Regions from separate parts of the Homo sapiens genome. Here region 2 is linked to region 1. Evidence: promoter capture Hi-C in 16 types of primary human blood cells and fetal thymus (Javierre and others, 2016). All regions are on one chromosome and are shown on one strand. The core of a region is centred on a gene start or on the middle of the fragment in contact, and the rest is flanking DNA. Distances in the headings are between cores, read along the strand shown.

What was found. The method cuts DNA at HindIII sites, captures the fragments that hold promoters and counts their contacts. A CHiCAGO score of 5 or more calls a contact.
Region 2: a contact is called between a fragment that was not itself captured here and the fragment with the promoter of MESTIT1 in region 1, in 1 of 17 cell types (endothelial precursors). The highest score is 9.3, in endothelial precursors.

The regions. Positions count from the first base shown.
Region 1 is chr7:130,488,547-130,494,465 of GRCh38, reverse strand. MESTIT1 (MEST intronic transcript 1, antisense RNA) reads left to right here and starts at 3,489. Exons shown (of 2, transcript NR_004382.2): 1 at 3,489-3,624; 2 at 4,499-5,919. It overlaps MEST (mesoderm specific transcript), which reads right to left and starts at 2,381. Exons shown (of 12, transcript NM_002402.4): 1 at 2,127-2,381. The coding sequence starts at 2,152. RefSeq lists a silencer at 3,344-3,553. The HindIII fragment of the contact is 7,997 bases long and covers 2,914-5,919 here.
Region 2 is chr7:130,686,614-130,692,532 of GRCh38, reverse strand. It overlaps a transcript of TSGA13 not described here. Among named protein-coding and RNA genes, the nearest start is that of TSGA13, 3.0 kb to the right of the region's middle. The HindIII fragment of the contact is 981 bases long and covers 2,815-3,795 here.

The sequences.
Region 1 (5,919 bases), core at 2,240-4,739:
AAGTCAGTTTATCCACATTGACAAGGAGTGCCAAACAGGAATTATAAACCGTTCTGTTTCAAGTCTATGACTTCTGATGGTCAACAGATCAAGAATTGTCAGTAGAATGGAAGTTCTCTCAAAACAGCCAGAATGGAAATAATACCCTCCAAAACTAAAATTAGAGTTGTCATAGAGCTGAAATAAATTAATTGCTAAAGCCCTGGGGGAAATGGCTTTCCGTCTGTACACACATTCTTCCCTATTGCCTGTAATCTACCTACCCGTTCGCTAACTTCCTCAACTTACAAGATACTTTTCCCCCCCATATCCCTGATACTTTTTGCTAAAATCTAAAAACAAGCCTGTGGTTTTACAGTGGTAAAATAACCATGTTTCTTAAACAATGTCAGCTCCCCAGGCTATTTTTTAGGCATTATTAGGGCAGTCATTTCTTTTTTTCTCCAAAGTACCTGTCCATAAGACGGATAGAACCATTTGGTCCTACTTCTCAAGGTAATACTAGAAATGGTTCAAAAAAGTGCCAGAACATGATGGTTATATCACAGTTTTCACCCAACAATAGCAGGCTGTATCCCAGTATCTCCTTGAAAGGTCAGATGACAAAAACCATTAGGTTTTGACGATCATTTGCCCAGCCCTATCTGTCCTGTACTTCAATGTATACATTTTCATGTGCAGATTTCATTACTCCTTTCCCCCAGTGCTTCTCATCGCATTCATCCCCGGGGTTCCAGCAGCTGAATCTCTGCAGTGACTCAGCAGAGAGCCCCGGGAGGGGCGGCCAGAGCGGCAAATGGGGAGGCTTCCCCGCCGCTGCTCAGGGAAAGTGGGGGGTTAAAAAACGAGGCTATCGACCAACATACTCCACTCCTGGACACCCCCCTCCACACCCTCCTCCTCTTACTCCAAGAAAGCAAAGAGGCAACCTCTCAGGGGGCCATTTTTTGTCTTATTACCTCAGTAAAAATGCCCCCATGAACTTTTAGGATTTTTAGAAGTGAAGCAACCTAGCCGTCAGTAGGCAAAATGGGTTAAGCAAACATTTTTTGGCCAAAATCCCAACTATTTGATGAGCCATGAGCGGAGACAATAAGCAAACTCCAGTAACAAACTTTCCAAAAATTTCTGAGCCTTGATTTCTTCATCTTGTAAACAGAAAAACACACTCCCGTAATAATACCACCCAACCTGCCGCCCACCTGATGGCGTCGCCGCGAGACGAACCACTTTGAAAACCCGCGAAACCAAGGTGAACAATCCCTGCGCAACATGACAGTTTGGTCACATCGCCGTTCTCACTCGCGCTTGTTACTGAAATCTGAAAAATACTTAAGGCGGCTGACGGGCACTGCGAGTTCTAGTCACTGCGGTGACTCCCGCCACCGTGATACCTGGGTCTTGAAATCCTAAGCTGCACCGCGGCGATCTCGGCACTGCGATTATCCCGTTCTTGAAATCCTAAGGTGCGCCACGGAGACACCGGGGTTCTAAAAATCCTACATCGCACCAGGGCGATGCTGGGGCCTATCCTTTAAGTCGCACCAGAGCGATGCTGGGGTTCTAAAAATCCTACATCGCACCAGGGCTTTGCCGGGATCTATAAATCCTAAATCGCGCCACGGCAACGGCGGAGTCTAAGAATCCTGAATCGCACCAGAGGGAAGCCGGAGTCTAAATATCCTAAATCAAACCAGGGCGATGCTGGGGGTTAGAAATCCTAAATCATGCTGCAGCAATGACTGAGTATAAAAATCCTAAATCGCACCAGGGTGATGCCAGGATCTAAAAATCCCAATTCGCATCAGGGTGAGACCAGGGTCATTATGGATCCTAAGTCATATCAAGATGACGCTGGGGTCCAGAAATCCTAAATCTCACCACGACGATCCCGGGGTCTAGAAATCCTAACCCAAGGAGGTCCCGCGTTCTGAACATTCCATTGCGGGCAGGAGTGACACCCCCTCCTCAAGTAGGCAGAGCGGGCGCGGAATGCGTGCCGCCTGTCGGTAGAGTTTTCGCCCAGAGGCAGCCCCAGCTCGGACACGGGCACACAGTCCTCCGCTCGCCTGCGCCCTAGTCCCAGGGCCGCCAGCCACACCCCCTCGTTCCCACCGCACACTCACCTGCGGAGGCGATCTCGGCGCACCATGGCCGCGTTATCCCATGCCGCCCGCCGCAGCGTTGCAGAGCACCGGGCGCCGCAGAGCCCGCAGCCGTGCAGAGCTGGCCAGCAGCGGGGGCGCAGCCCGCAGCCCACAGCCCGCGCAGGGCGGCGCCGCGCCGGGCAGCTACAGCCACTCCGGCGTGCGCTGCGGCACTGCGCTTGCGAGGCGCAGCTGCCGCAGAGGAGGTGCCGGGGTGTGCTGGTTGCCGCGGCAGCGCGGAGCGAGTGGGCACCGACTTTTAGAGCCCACCCGCGCCCCGCCCCTAGCCCGCCCATCGCCGCAGAACCCCTACCGCCTGCTCCCTTGCTCGCCGCAGAGCCCCTCCCAGCCGCTCTACCACCGCCATGGCCACAAAGATGGGGTGCCCCTCTAACAGTGGCTCCTTTAGGGGGCACCTTCAGGGGTGTCGAGCCCCCTCCCCAAGACCCCGCTGCTCCCTCGTTAACCGCCAACCCTGAGCCCGAGATTCTGCTGCAGAAACCCTCCCCTGATGAGTTAAGGCCACGGGCAAAAACAGCAGACCCCTGAGTGCCCCAACTCTTTCCTTAGACCACCCACAAACCCCACAGGCCGCCCACAAACCCCACAGGCTGCCCACAAGCCCCACAGGAGGATGGCCGCTCGAACTAAGGGGCAGCAGGGCTCTGGGGTGCCGGCCGTGGCGCCTGCTCCCATCCCTCGTTCGAAGCGTGGGTACTGAACCGTGAGAGGTGGCGAGCCACGAGGGCCCTATGCGCCCTAAGCTTAACTACCGGTAACCACCAAGGGCACGAGCAAGCGGCTAGGGAGCAACAAGCTCTGTTGGACCCACCACCAAGCTAGTAAACAGATTCATGGGATGGCCACTATGGCCAAAGTTGCACAAAGTCCGGTTTCTCCCGCTCCAGCCACCGCCGCTGCGCGGGGCAGGTTTCCTTTACAGCAGCGCGACGTGGTCAGCATGCCAGACGCCTGGCCACAGCAGCGCCCTCGCAGCCCCGCTCGCTGCATGCGCCGGTCCGCGCTGCACAGAACAGTGGGCACAATTAGGAGAGCAAAGCCCCCTTTATTTACGTAAGATAGAATCACAATGCAAGGGCCCAGAGGCACAAGAAAGAGGGAGGAATTTTTCTAATCCATAATCCTTTAAAAGGCATCCCTTACGCCTTTGAAAAGTGTAGAGTATCACGAAGTGTCTGTGTTCATTTTCTGACCGTAAACTGAAATACTGGTGAACAAACGTGGGGTGCGAGCGGGTGAGCGGGGCGGCCGGCCGGTGCCCGCTGCATCCAGAGGGGGCGCTGCAGGCCTCCCTTCGGCTGCGCACGGCCCGGGCCCTCCGCGGCTCTGCAACTCTGCACCCCGAAAGGTTCGGTGCTGGACCGCGGGGCATCCAACCCGGGACCGGGGGCGACCCACGGACACTGAGGAAACTACCGCCTATAAGCCTATCATCAGAACCTCTGGCACAACACAGGTACACTTCTGCAGGGGTCTGGTTGCCCCCAGAAAAAGCACTCATGAAACAAATGCTGATTTAGCACCTACAGGGCACTAAGAACCGGGGGTGCGAAATAAATGAGAAATAGCCCCGGCCCGAAAACAACACACGGGCCATCTGGAGGGGAAGACAGACAAGAACTGCCACTTTGTAAAATTTTCCTTTTAATTTCCTAGCGACGTTTGTGGCAGTTGACCCACTCCTCCCTAACGTGTAAGGCCCTCAGAGGCAGAGCCCAAGTATTATTCACCTTTTGTAGCCCCAGAGCCCGCCACGGTGCCGGCCACAAAGCTGGCCCCTAATAAATACTGCTTGAATGAGTACAAGAATTTGAGGGCGCACAGGGGAGGAAGTAATTAAGGGGAGGGGCGAAGGGTGGTCTTGAATGATGAATAGACATTTACCAGAGAGACAAAGAACATTCCAGCCGGAGGGGACGGCTTTCGCAAAGCACCGGAGGCTCAGGGCCGCGTGTTTGGGGAAAACGGTTAGTCCTTTGAGCCGGCAAAAAATTAGGATAGCAAGAGAATTTCATCGTAGGGAATTAGGAATTTGTTCTAGAGAAAATGAGAAGCCACAGATGGATTTAAACTCTTTATGGCCTTAATTGGTTACTTAACAAAATTTAAATTAGTCTCTTTACAAGTCAAAGATTACCTATTTTAACTACCACTACCTTTTAAAGACTGAATTACTCTGCAAAATCTAAATCGGTTCTTCCAAAAAGGTAAAGGCTTTCCTATTTTAATAATAACAATAACAAAAGCCTTTGCATTATATATTTTTCATATTTATTGTTAATGGAAACTTTGAGTCCTACAAACAAATTCCACACTTTCATTCTCACCAGGCCAGAAACACCAGCATCCAAGATGAAGGCAATTTTCTGTTTATGGACTGAGTACCCCACAAAAGATCTTATTCTGAAGGCCATGGAACATGTCTACCCACATGGATCAAGTGGGCAGACTGGAGGAGAAACAGTTTAAAGGCCCTGGGGGAAGGAGGGAGCGCCAGGGAGAGCTCCTGAAGACAACAGGAATTCCAAGTCTGGCACTCGGGAGAAATCCTCCCTTCAGACATTATTGATGTCTGGCCGAGGAGTTAGGAAAAACTTCCTTGAAGGAGGGATTGAGGTTGAGATGGGCATGGAACCCAGATCTTAGGCAGAGAAAGCATATTCCTGTTTGGAAGAACCCTGAGTACAGAAGTCAGCTCAAAGATATCAGCTTGGCCCAACCAGGAATTCGCTGTGGGAAGTCTAAGAGAGAAAATGCTGGCCATAATCCCCCAGGAGCCAAAGAGTTAACGAATCTTCTAAATGTGCCTGATTTACTTCCAGAAAGGAGCTTCCTCCGCAGGGGGAGAATTTGACCCAAGGTATAAAACACTTGGAGCCCTGAGAAAACACACAGCCACACATAAATTCAAAGTCGGCTCTGGCTTGCTCGAAGTTGCACCCTTTCAGTTCCTCTGGACAGATGCTATCCTGGACTGTGCAGGATATCTCATGCAGTAGTACTCCCTCAGCCAGTGGCTTATCACACATTCTTGTCACATTCCAAGTCTAACACAGTTCCGCCTCATGATAAGACCTCAGATCTGTGCAAAAATTCATGTAGAAAGCTCTGCATTTATTATCTCGCTGATTCACAACAGTGGTATGGGATCAGCAGAGATGGTACCACAGATTCAAGAACCATATTTTTCTAACCCCAGTTTGAGACCCATAATATGACAAGTGCAGGATATTTATGGAGACAACAAGACACAACCGGGACTGCCACTTTCAAGAGCCATCATTGTAGATTCAAATCAACTAAAACACTTCATAATGGGAGAAACTTGGTTGAACAGGAGCACATGTTAACGAAGGGGTTTTGGTTGAGAAACTTACTGAATCAGTAAGACAGGACCCTTAAAAAGGCTACTGTGACTGCAGACTGAGGGGAAGTACCAAAAATAAGCTAATCCTACTCTATTATGCTGGTTAGAACTCACAGAAAGCATTTTATTCTGTTCTACAGAGCAGATACATATTGAAACAGAGACAAATAGGAATGTGTTCAGAGAAGGTCAACTAAATGAATTGCAAACTGAAGGTGTAACAGTTCTCGTATTTTAAGCTCCTACCATGAGCATGGATCTTCACCCAACATATCCCTGATCCTCACAGTAGCCTGGCTAGATGAGTATTTTCACTCACAGATTTCAGAGAGAGATACGGCAGCTCGGAACGCTAAGTGTTAGGATGTGAAGGGGCTGGGAACT
Region 2 (5,919 bases), core at 2,056-4,555, 200 kb before region 1:
AAACTAACACAGAAACAGGAAACCAAAAACAGTATGTTCTCACTTATGAGTGGGAGCTAAATGATAAAAACACATGGACACACAGAGGGAAACAACACACACTGGGGCCTATCAGAGGGTGGAAGGTGGGAGAAGGGAGAGGATCAGGAAAAATAACTAATGGATACTAGGCTTAATATCTGGGTGATGAAATAATCTGTACAACAAACCTCCATGACACATGTTTACCTATGTAACAAGCCTGCACATCCTGCACATGTACCCCTGAACTTAAAATAAAAGTTAAAAAAAAAGAGGAGGAGAAGACATGGGATTTCTCACTGCTGTCGGCAGAGAATGTCTGAATGGGGATGCATATCCACTGCTCCTTCATGTATCATCCCGCCATGTTGGAAACATTCAGAAATTTGCCATGTTGGGCATCTTCAGTCCCAGAGTTTTTCCTGAGACCACCTTCTATCCCTTGCTGTCCATCTTGTACATTTAAAACCTCATTTCCCCCCCACCCAGTTTTGTTTCTCCTTTGGTCCCCATTTTCCTGACACTCCAGTGCTAAATTGAATGTAAGTACTGAGTGGAGAGACAGCTTCCACTTTCGTAAGTAGATTTCCCCACATTTTTAATAGACAAATCTACAGAAAAATTGGATGGCCTTGATTCCTAATTCCCAGATTCCCAGCCTCCTGCTCTTCTCTGTATTCCTCCACTTCTGGCAGCTTCTTAGCTCCCTATTCTTGCCAGAGCAGCTATTGCTGCTGCTATATTCTACTCCTCATAAAATGCATTAGCCCTAAAAATCATTTTCCATTCATTCATCTCTGAATAATGCTAGCTTTGTTGAGTCTTGGTGTTGGTCAATACATGAGATTAATGAATTTATAAACTCTGCTCCTGCTTTCTTACCAGAGATGGAGGGCAGGTTGCTAGGCAAACCTCCCTGCCCAGTCCCCAGTTTCTATCTGGCTTTCATTTTTTGCTTTGCTGGGGAGATAACTTTCTCAAATTCCTACTTACATATTCTCTGGTATCTGAGTCTATGTAGACTATGTAAAATAACAGTTGTAGCATTCACTGTAGTCAGGATGTTGATTTAGGTTGGTGCAAAAGTAATATTTGAGGTGCCAATTACATCTCTTTCCCTTACCGGTTCTGAAGCAGTTAGTAAACACATGCAAAAATCTGGTAAGTTCAGAATATCAGCTTTCTGCTAGAAGTTGGTTTGGAGACTGGCTGGGGCCTGAACATACATTGGGCTTCCTAAAACATCCCCCTGAACTGGAAAGATTTACCCAGCCACTGATAAATGATAGGCCTCTCCTCAAGAAAGCAAGAGCTTCATGTGTCACCAGCAGGCTGTTTAAGAAAGAAAGAGTGGGCCGGGCACAGTGGCTCACGCCTATAATACCAGGACTTTGGGAGGCCGAGGGCAGATCACGAGGTCAGGAGATCGAGACCATCCTGGCTAACACGGTGAAACCCTACCTCTACTAAAAAAATACAAAAAATTAGCCAGGCGTGGTAGTGGGTGCCTGTAGTCCCAGCTACTTGGGAGGCTGAGACAGGAGAATGGTGTGAACCCAGGAGGTGGAGCTTGCAGTGAGCCGAGATCATGCCACTGCACTCCAGCCTGGGTGACACAGCAAGACTCCATCAAAAAAAAAAAAAAAAAAAAAAAAGGAAAGAAAGAAGGAAGGAAAGAAGGAAGGAAGGAAGGAGAGAAAGGAAAGAAGGAAGGAAGAGTGGCTAGGTATAGTAGCTCATGCCTGTAATCCCAGCACTTTGGGAGGCTGAGAGAGGAAGATTGTTTGAGGCCAGGATTTCAAGACCAGCCTGGGCAACACAGTGAGACCATGTCTCTTTAAAAAAAAAAAAAAAAAAGCTGGGCATGGTGGTGCATGCCTGTAGTCCCAGCTACTCAGGAGGCTGAGGTGGGTGGGTGCCTGAGCCCAGGAGTTTGAAGCTGCAGTGACCTATGATGATGCCACTGCACTTCAGCCTGGGTAACAGAATGAGACCCTGTCTGAAAATGCAAGAAAGAAAGACAGAAAGAAAGAGAGAGAGAGAGAGAGAGAGAGAGAGAGAGAGAGAGAGAGAGAAGGAAAGAAAGAAAGAAAGAAAGAAAGAAAGAAAGAAGGAAAGAAAGAAAGAAAGAAAGAAAGAAAGAAAGAAAGAAAGAAGAAGAAAGAAAGAAAGAAAAAGAAAGAATGAAAGAAGACAAAAATGGGGCAAACTACCCTTGCTTGGCATTCTGTGCCACTACCTTTTTTCATGAAGGGTAGATGCTTCTTTCCACACTTCCTTACTTTCCATACCAATACTTCCATAAAGGTAGCCGTTTCTATTTTATAAACAGTTAGAAATGAGAAAAGAGGACAAAACTGTTCAAAAAAACAGTTCCTCCCATCTTGTGCCCTTCCTCCTGCTCTTTGCTCCTGAGGTCACATCTCTCAGAATGCACTGTGCCACCCCAGCACCCTGTCCTCCCTGCCCAGCTGTTACCTGGGGTGTGAAGTCTCCATCTGAATGTGGAAAGTTATGTAGGTGAAGGGATAAGGGGGAGCTGTTCTTAGGCCCTGTCATAGATCAACACCCAAGGAGTAGTAGGCAGGGAGGATCGCCCTGAGTTTTGATCAATGCAGCCCCTGTATCTCTGAAAAAAGAAGACAAACAATGGGGATTCACATTCTCTTTTACCAGATGGTCTCTGTTTCTTCAAGCAAATCCTGGCATTTCCATGAACCCAAGCCTTGTAGGTTTTTTTCAGTCTAGATTTATCTGCCTTATAAGTGGCAGCATTGGATTGCTTATTAAGCTTTTGGTCATTTTTGCAAGTTTTAATCTTTTTCTATACCTTCAAAACTTGCTGCTTGAAGCTAAAAAATTTGTTTCCTTTTTCATAATAGCATCCCTTCCAATGATATCATCCCACCTGTGGCCACTTCCTCCTAGTTCTCTTTCAATCTCTGGCCACTCCTTTTCCATGTTCTTTACAAAATTCATTTATGATGCTCTTTTTTGGATGTTTACATAGTCTGGGGCATGGTTCTATGCTTTAGTCTCTTGTTAGTCCACCATTTTTCCTACTTGATCTTATCTAGTCCAATGGCTTCAATTAGCACATAATGCTTGAGGCTGACTTCCAAATGCATAATTCTACCCAAATGGCTTAGTCTGTTCAGGCTGCTATAACAAAATACCATAAACTGGGTGGATTATAAACAACAGGAATTTATTTCTCACAGTTCCAGAGGCCGGGAAGTCCAAAATCAAGGTGCTGGCACATTCAGTATCTGGTGAGGACCGGCTTTTTGTTGTGTCCTCACATGGCAGAAGGAGTAAAGATGTGCTTTTGAAGCCACTTCTATAAGTGCACTAATTGCCCCCACAAAGGCTCCACATCCTAATACCCTCATAATTAGGGACTCAGTATCAACATATGAATTTAGGGAGGCAGAGGACATAAACATTCAATCTATAGTACCAAACCTGTCTCTCCTGAGCTCCAGTCCCATATTTTAAACTACTTACTAGACAACATCCTCACCTCTGCCTCATACTCAACTGACCAGAAACAAAATTCATCATTTATCCCCCAAACTTGCTCCATTCCCTTTGTTCTCTAATTTGGTAACTTGCACCTCCATTAACTCAGGTAACAAAGCTAAAAATGTGATTATATTCCTTATCTCATGTATTCAACTAGTTACCAAGTTCTATTAATTCTACCCTCCTAACATCTTTCATATATCCTTTTTTAACCCTCTTCACTGCCACTACCTTGCTTTAGAGCAAGCTTGTCCAACCCATGGCCCATGGGCCACACGTGGCCCAGGATGGCTTTGAATGCAGCCCAACACAAATTCAAAAACTTTCTTAAAACATTATGAGTTTTTTTTGTGTGATTTGTTTTAGCTCATCAGCTATTGTTAGCGTTAGAGTATTTTATGTGTGGTCCAATACAATTCTTCCAACGTGGCCCAGGGAAGCCAAAAGATTGGACACCCTGCTTCAGAGCCCATATTAGGTTTTTTTTTTTTTTTTTTTGGTCATAAACTGCAGAAATGAACCCTAAGAAAATAAAGGATTTATTTGAAAGAATATTAGGAAAGCTCACAGAACTGAAGAGAAAATTGTGTAGTCTTGCTTTAGGAAGGACTAGATCTGGGGCAGCTCCGGGGACCTCAGCAGGTAGAGCTCAGAGCTCAGAGTCTTCCAGCCTGGGATACCACATGAGGTGGCTCAGGTGCAATCATCTTACAGCTCTGTGGGTCATTAGCAAACTTTCAAATTCTTAGTATAACCTGGTTGGCCACCTTTGAATCAATCATCCAGAGCTAGGATGCAGGAGTGAATGGCACTAATTGGTGATGGCTATAGACCCTTATAATTTCTCAACCCCTCCTCAGCACTGTCATAGACTTCTCAAGGACCTCTTTGCATCTTTCTAATCTATAGTTCTTCTGTCTTTCCAATCTATAGTTCACATGCCACTATTTTTGTATTTCTAAAATATATATTGTTCAATAAGGAGATTATACCTCATTTAAAATCTCTTGTTAGCGCTTCATTACTCAGAATAACCCACAAACTTCCTATCAAATAGTTCATTTTAGGATTTGGATCCTGTCTTCCTCTCTAGTCTCACCTCTCACTACCCTTCCCCTAAATCTTATGTTCCTGGCATATTGCAATTACAGTATTTTCAATTCCCCTAAATAAGCCAGGCTTTGTTGTATTCTCATGTTTTTGCCTCTGCTTCTCCCTCTTTCTCAAATGTCTGTCCTCTCATCACCTGGTTAATTCACACTCATCTTCCCCAGCTCAGTTTAGGCAGTAGTTCCAAATCTCTCTCAGTCTCTTCTCAGTATGGGTTAAGTCCCCTTCCTCATTGCTTCCATAGTACCCTAAATTTAGATCTAATTTGGCATTCTACTCTGTTGCAATCAACCGTTTCTTTGTCTCTCTTCCTGGCTAAACTGTGAGCTCCTAAAGGAGCTCAAGAATTACATCTGATTTATGCTTTGTTCTCATCACCTAGGAGAGTGTCTAATATGTCATAAATGTTCAGCAAATATATTGAAATAAGCAAACACTAGTTTTGAATGCATAAGATACAAAGCACTGGGAGGGGGGCACAAATATGTTTAAAATTTACATTTCCACTTTTAAGGGACTCACAGCTTAAGAGGCAGACAAGACCCGCACATAAGAAAAGTGAAAACAGAACTACAAGACACTATACAATGACATGCACAAAACCCAGTGACTATAGTCTAGAGTTTGGGATTGCATTAATCTAGAAAATCTTCTCTTTAAAGGAATGACCTGAGTAGTAACATAAAGAAAGAAGATTCAGGGCTGGGCATGGTGGCTCACGCCTGTAATCCCAGCACTTTGGGAGGCTGAGGTGGGTGGATCACAAGGTCAAGAGATCGAGACCATCCTGGCCAACATGGTGAAACCCCGTCTCTACTAAAAATACAAAAATTAGCTGGGCATGGTGGCAGGCGCCTGTAGTCCCAGCTACTCTGGAGGCTGAGGCAGGAAAATCACTTGAACCAGGGAGACAGAGGTTGCAGTGAACTGAGACTGTGCCACTGCACTCCAGCCTTGTGACAGTGTGAGGCTCCGTCAGAAGAAAGAGAAGGAGAAGGAGAAGGAGAAGATTCAAATGGCTGAAGAGATTGGGGACAGCATTTTAAGTATGGGGAATAAGAAAAAATGCTCACTGTATTTGAAGAATGCAGTGAAAACATTGGCTTAGGTAGAGGTAGATTAAGAGATGGTGAAGATGTGTGTGTGTGTGTGTGTGTGTGTGTGTGTGTGTGTGTGTGTGTGTAGAGAAGTCATAGGCTGGCAAAATAAGAGATTGGCAGATTTTGTTTAAATATGCCTTTAAGTTTTGGCCTTTTCATTCTC